Linked DNA regions of Homo sapiens: region 2 is linked to region 1. Evidence: promoter capture Hi-C in 16 types of primary human blood cells and fetal thymus (Javierre and others, 2016). All regions are on one chromosome and are shown on one strand. Each heading gives the region's core, a stretch centred on a gene start or on the middle of the fragment in contact. The rest is flanking DNA. Distances are from core to core; before and after follow the strand shown. Region 1 holds the start of PHLDA3 (pleckstrin homology like domain family A member 3). Region 2 overlaps NAV1 (neuron navigator 1).

Region 1 (3,348 bases), core at 572-3,071:
TGGGGAGGCCGAGGCAGGCAGATCACCTGAGGTCAGGAGTTCAAGACCAGCCTGGCCAACATGGCGAAACCCCATCTCTACTAAAAATACAAAAATTAGCAGGGTGTGGTGGCAGGCACCTGTAATCCCAGCTGTTCTGGAAGCTGAAGCAGGAGATTTGCTTGAGCCCAGGAGGTAGAGGTTGCAATGAGCCAAGATCACACGACTGTACTCCAGCCTGGGTGACACAGCGAGACTCTGTCTCAAACAACAACAACAACAACAACAAACCATACACACACACACACACACACACACACACACACACACACACACATATGTAGAGGAGGAGCTGGATCCCTCAGGCCCAGTCCAGCCAAGGCGGCCCACTGAGGCCCCACCTTCCACTGAGGCCCCACCTTGGGAGCCGGACTCCTTGGCTCTATTTGCAACCCTTGATGGTGCCTTCGCCATCTGGGAGATACTGTCTTTCTACATCAATTCAATGCTCAAACTTTATGACAAGCATTCAACCTAGAGGGAAAGAGGGTCGGCCTCCACGATCCGCGTCCCCACCCTCGGTTGTCCTCAGCTGCCAGAAAGCCGAAGTCCAGGAGCCCTGCTCTGCGTGGAAAGCAGAGGCCCACAGCCTGGGGCAATGTGCAGGCCAACCTCCCTCTACTTCCTTCCACCTGAGTCAGGGCTGAACCAACTTGAAAGAAGGCTCATCTCACCCAGGTATCCCCCTCCCAGGGCTTCCATCTTCCTCTCACACACCTGGATCACATTCTGGACCGGCCAACCTGGTGCCTCAGGGGAAAGTCCGGATCTGCTGGGTTGGCCACTGGCCCAAGCCTCCCATGCCCTCAGTTGGCCCCAGGAACCTCCCCCCTAAGATGTCCGGCTCTGAAGTAGAATGCTAGTCCTCATTCTCTCTGTAGGGGAAAGAGAAGGGAGGGAAGGAGAGAAGAGGGCCCAGTCCCCCGGGGGCTTACCTGCCTTGACCTCAGCACTGAGGTGGTGGGTAGCATGAAGGAAAGATGGTGCGCCCGGTGGTTTAGGACACGAGGGTCCCGGTCCCGAGGCTCTGCCGGGCCCGCACTGTCTGGATGGCCTGCTGGTTCTTGAACTTGACCAGGCCTAGGGTGATCTGGGCGTTCCAGCCGGGATCTTCCAGGGGGCAGCGGAAGTCGATCTCGCCGCCCCCTTCGGTCACCAGCGTGAAGTAGATGTGGCGCCCGGTGCTCTCCACGCACTCCACGGCCTTGATGCGGGCGAAGCTGAGCTCCTTGGGCCGGCCGCCCGTGCCCTTGGCCTCGAAGAGCTGCAGCCCGCGTTCGGTGAGGACGCAGCGCTTCCGCTTCCACAGCTGCAGCAGCCCGCCGCTGCGCTTCTCCAGCACGCCCTCCTTGAGCACGGTAGCCGTCGCCGCCGCCGTCATGGGCGCCCCGAGGTTCGCGGAAAGCTCCAGGCTGCGGCGGGCGCGGCGCCCCTCTCGGCCCCGCAGCGCAGGATTCTGGCGCCCCGGGCTGGCAGGCCGTGCGCGCTGCCCACCTGCGCCCTGACTGCTCCGCGCACCCACACCGCGGCCCTCAGCACCCGGCTGCCGGTGAGGTGGTGTCGGTGCCCCCAGCGCGCTCCGCGCCCACCGCCCCGCTTCAGCCGGCACCCGCTCCTCCGCTCTACCCCAGCTGGCCCAGCCCGACCCGCCTCTGCCAGATGCCTCCGCGCCTCCCTAGGCCGTGAGCCCCACCGCCCGCCCGTTCTCTTGCTCCCCTGGGCTCTGTCTGCGCGCTGGGCGGCAGCTCGCGGGATGTGCCCTTACATGTTCCGCCGCTCGCCTCCTGCGCCGCCCGCCCGCAGCGCATTCCTACCCTGGCCGGCCCTCCCCTCCGCGCCGCGCACCAGCTCCGGCAGGGCCCCGGGGGCGGGGCCGCAGCGGGGGCTCAGTCACTCACTGGAGGCGCAGGGCGCGGGGCGGGGAGGGCCGGGACTGAGAGGGGGCTGCTTACTCAACAGCCCAAGCCTTCTGGCTGCCGTCTGCCGCTTCTCGGAACCGCAGCTCCCCCAGGCCTTGAATGAAGGGGGAGATGGCGGGGAAGGGAGGGGGAAGGCGCATCTCCTCGATTGGAGAGCGCGCTGCTAGCAAGGGGGTGGGCTTGCTTGGCGAACGCGCAGTGGCACCAGTTGCATGTTAGGCGTCAGACAGCTGCTGGTTACTTGGCACGCCATGGGGCCCCCAGCCTCTGCATCAAGCCCATGTTGGGTTCCTCCTCCATCGCCCGATTTCTCTGTGCAGCACCCAAGAGAGGCTGTCCATCGCTGCCTCTGCTTGGACAGTTCACCTGCTCCTACTCCTACCCCCATGCATTGCGCGGGGAGGCCTGTAGAGAGTAGCCAGTGCCAACAAAGGAGAGCTGAGGCTTGAGGTCATTCATGCCCTCCTCGTAGTGGGGGAGGAGGGACCCCCTCCGTGACCTGGGGATGCCACTGTCTGCAGTCCTCTCCACCGCACACTTGCAGGCGCCGACGCTGGACCGATGGCACAGCCAGTCCCAGGTGTAAGCGCAGCTCCAACCTTGCTCCTTCCGCTCCGCAGATTCTGTCCTCCCTCGGCCTTCCCCAAGAATGGACTTCTCCCGCATACAGAGCTGGAGGGGAACGCAGAGGGAGAGGTCTCTTTCTGTTCTGGCTAGAATATTGTGTAAACACAAGAGCTTTGCAGAGTTGAGTTCAAACCTCTTCTCCCTTGTTGGCTGTGTCCTGCCCACCTGGGGCAACTTTACTGACCTCCGTCAATTTCCTCATCTGTCGAATAGGAGGATTAATTTATTCTCATCTCATGGGGTTGTCCTGATGAATAAGTTGGATAACATTTGTGAAAGACCCAAGACAGGACCTGACAACTCTTGAGTCTCAAGAAATGTTCTTCCTCCCCTCTCCCCACTCTTATTCCCTTTAGAGAATGATGGGGGCCCTGAGATTAAGCCAGGCACTGGAAGAGGGCTCTCTTAGGTCCTCATTCTGTCCCCATCTTGATCAGTTCCTCCAGGCCCACAGTTTCTTAAAGGTCTATTCATCAACATGTTAATAATAGATTCTTACGGGAGTAATGATATATAATAATGACAGTAATAAGACCTCTTTGTACTTACACCCTGTGTTGCCATCCTCCTGCCCAAAGAGCAGAGCCTAACAGATACAGGGAAGGTCCTGTTGTGGGGATAGGAGTGCGCTCCTCTGCAGTCCCAAAGTTAGGAGATGAGAGAAGGGAACTGTCAGTGTCTCATCCATAACTCTTTATACACACACACACACACACACACACACACGTGTGACGACAACTAACTCCTAACTCCCAGAATGCCC
Region 2 (3,348 bases), core at 432-2,931, 320 kb after region 1:
AACTGTGCAGGCACATGATTGGTCATTAGAATTCTGTCTAGTGACCACGACACTACTGAGAAACCTAACTCCCATTCTGGTCTGACTCCTTCATTCCCAACTGCCTTTTCTGAGCAGTCTCCTTGGGCAGATGGTAGAAACAATCTGAAATTCAGGTTGAGAGCTAGAATTCTTTGTTTCTACTCTCAGTACCTCCATTTAGAACGAGTCTATTTCTTTAGACCTTAGTTTTTCTACCCTGTGACATGGGGAGAAATGAAGCCACCTCCTCTAACCAGGCTGTGGTACTTTCTCCCCTGTGACTGAGTTGCAAACAGAGAACATAAGAGCCATTTTCCCCCAAAGCTGTAAACAACAGCTGAGCCGGATCTGCAGGAGCTTTCCAAGTGTTTGCACAAAAGTAACCATGTCTGCAATTTCCGCAGTAGTTTCTGGTTTTCTCTCTGCCCTTCCTCTCTGGGGAACCCAGCTGTCAGGCCTGGGGTCTATCCGTCGGAATTAGGTAGAAGAATCTCCACCAAGATTCTGAATGTTTCCAACACATTTCAGCAGCAGTTCCCTCACCACACTAGTTATTCTCTCGATTCTCTTTTCCCAAACCCTCAATTCATAAGTTGTACCAGTTTGTTTGAAGCTCATGTTAAGCACTTTTTCCCACTCTTGGGGGACCCATAAGAATTGTAACATAAACAAGAACCATCTTTTCTCTCCCTTGTGCCACACCCACCAAAGCAAATGGCCTGGGTCACGTCCTGCACACCCCAGGAAATTCATGTCTGGGAGATGCTGGGGGGGAGAGGCGCCAGGGAGGCAGAGAACATTATTATGTCTGATTCATTTACACTGCAATCTGTCAGCCACCATGCTGTCAAGGCTGGGCTGAAGCCAAGAAATTGAATTTAGAGGGTGATTTTTCTTAGAACAGGAAGTTCCATTTGGCTAAGAGAGAACAAACTAAACACCCAGACACGGTGGGTTCTGCATCTTAAAGGCAGATTTTTGCCGAGGGTCAGAACCCTGCCCTCAAGCAGGAGATGGGATGCTGGGACTCTAGGAAGGTTCCACAGCTCTCTTCAGGATTCCGTGACTCCAAACCAAACTTTTGTCATGTTCCATGGAACTTCCTAGCCACTAAAGCTGAGGGCACACCCTAGATGTAGGGGCCCAGACCACTTTACCCCTCTCAAATGCTAGCCTTTCTGCAGCACCACTGCTTAGCCCTGAGGTCTTACAGGTACCCTAGTCTGGGGTTGGGATTAAGGGAAGGGTCAATGTAGGGAGAGGAAGTGTAGGGGAGAGCGGGGAGAAAGCCCAGCCAGAGCAAAAGGGTTCCCCTGGATGGGGAAAGGCAGCACAGAAGAGCATACAGGGGTTCTTGGGGCCTCTCATGAGTAGTCTTCCAGGGACTACAAGGAGTCTACAAGCAGACATGCAGGATGTAGAGAAGCAAACCAGAGAAGACCTGAGGTCAAGAAGACAGATGTTGCCTGCACAGTGGGTGAAAGGAAACTGCTCAGGTTGTGACATATTATAATCTCCTCAGAGCCCAGGCCTTGACAGATTTATAGTAAAAGTGCAAGAGGAGGCTCTAACTGGACTAAAGGGATTGCCTCCAGCCCTGGTCCTATGAAGTAGGCTCCAGACATGCGGAGCAGTGGATGAAAACTAGAGTTGACCCAACAGGGAGGGAGAATTGTAAGCCAGTAGGAGCCATGAGAGTGCCGTCGATTTCCTAGAGCTCTGCATGAAGGAGCTGCGCAGAGTATGCCCACTTCTTGCTAGGGTCACCAACTTGCTCAGATAGTCTCACGATGGCTATTTCTCCATCCCCAAGTGCTCCCCTTTCTAGCCCCCGGCCTCATTCCCTTTACCTTGCCTATACATCTTGCAGCCAGTTGGCCAGCTAGAGGTCAAACTATGCCAAACCAAGTGGCCTTAGCTCCTCCACTGAGCACCTTTCCGAACTAGCCTGCCTCTTATCCAGAGAGCCCTTTGGTATCCTTCACTCCTCATGAAACAGACCTGACACCTAGTGGCCAAACGGTGGAATGCCTCTGCAGTTTCCTTCCAGCCTTGCAAACCTGGAGAATCCGGGAACAAGGAGCAGCTGCAAAGCAAGAAAGGGTGAAGCAGTGGAGTAGCAGAGGAGGAAGAAACGCACCAAATAGTTTCTGCCAGGAGATTATTTGGTCCCTTGGGGGCCGGCCCACTCCACAATGCAGGAGTTAAACCAAAATAATAGGAACGACCCCAGAGGCTATGGCCCGCCTACCAAGTTGGCCACACCAAATATCACATAGAGCAGAGGGATAGTCCTACCTCTGGTAGTTGATAGGTTTTAGATCTCAAGTCTCCAGGAGCCTCTGGAAACCTGCCCTACCCTCAACCTGGCTTCATTATTCAAGAAGCTGGTTCCCACCAGAAAATTTCTTTGATTTCCCCTTTGTCTGCTCAGGAAAATCAATATTTTTTTAACCACCAAGAGGTTTGCTGGCATTGGTCAGCTCCGAGATACAGGAAATCAGTTAAAACTATTTCCCATTGTCAGTTATTGCCTTTCCCCCAGCCTTATGCAACTTAGCAATCTCTTTCTGTGTTTGTTTCAGGCTAATCTGGTGGCTGCTTTTGAGCAGAGCCTGGTGAATATGACATCCCGCCTGCGACACCTGGCAGAGACGGCCGAGGAGAAGGTGAGAGGCCTGGGAAAGGGTGGGAGGGGTGGGTGCGGCGAGGGGGTTCTCCTGGACAGAGAGGCCGAAGCTGACCATCTGTTCTTGCTCATGAATGCCAGTTTCTCCCCACCTCACTGTCACCCTGGATTCTCAATCTGCCCCCCAATACAGTGTGAGCATATTCCTTATCCCAATTCCTTGCCCTTCTCTATCAAGTTTTGCAGAATTCCAATGCCTCGCCCATTGCCTGACACATCATAAGGGCTCAGGGCTCCTGCTAATCCCAACTAATGACGCTGTTTTCTTTTTTTGAGATGGAGTTTCGTTCTTGTCACCCAGGCTGGAGTGCACTGGCGCGATCTTGGCTAACTGCAAACTCTGCCTCCCAGGTTCAAGCGATTCTCCTGCTTCAGCCTCCCAAGTAGCTGGGATTACAGGTGCCCGCCACCACGCCCAGCTAATTTTTGTATTTTTAATGGAGACCAGGTGGCCAGGCTGGTCTTGAACTCCTGACCTCAGGTGATCCGCCCACCTCGGCCTCCCAAAGTGCTGGGATTATAGGTGTGAGCCACCGTGCCCAGCCAACGCTATTTTCATTTCTCTCTTAGGACACTGAGCTGCTGGATTTGCGAGAAACCATAGACTTTCTGAAGAAAAAGAACTCTGAGGCCCAGGC

The links. The method cuts DNA at HindIII sites, captures the fragments that hold promoters and counts their contacts. A CHiCAGO score of 5 or more calls a contact.
Region 2: a contact is called between a fragment that was not itself captured here and the fragment with the promoter of PHLDA3 in region 1, in 2 of 17 cell types (M1 macrophages and monocytes). The highest score is 6.7, in M1 macrophages.

Annotation. Positions count from the first base shown.
Region 1 is chr1:201,467,367-201,470,714 of GRCh38, forward strand. It overlaps PHLDA3 (pleckstrin homology like domain family A member 3), which reads right to left and starts at 1,822. Exons shown (of 2, transcript NM_012396.5): 1 at 975-1,822. The coding sequence starts at 1,420. The coding sequence ends at 1,037. RefSeq lists enhancers at 1,002-1,061, 1,132-1,271, 1,493-2,207, 1,722-1,841 and silencers at 1,342-1,651, 1,862-2,091. The HindIII fragment of the contact is 14,509 bases long and covers 1-3,348 here.
Region 2 is chr1:201,791,186-201,794,533 of GRCh38, forward strand. NAV1 (neuron navigator 1) reads left to right here. Exons shown (of 34, transcript NM_001389617.1): 18 at 2,607-2,690; 19 at 3,281-3,348. All of the region lies in intron 2 of IPO9-AS1 (IPO9 antisense RNA 1), which reads right to left. Among named protein-coding and RNA genes, the nearest start is that of MIR1231, 16 kb to the right of the region's middle. The HindIII fragment of the contact is 4,337 bases long and covers 1-3,348 here.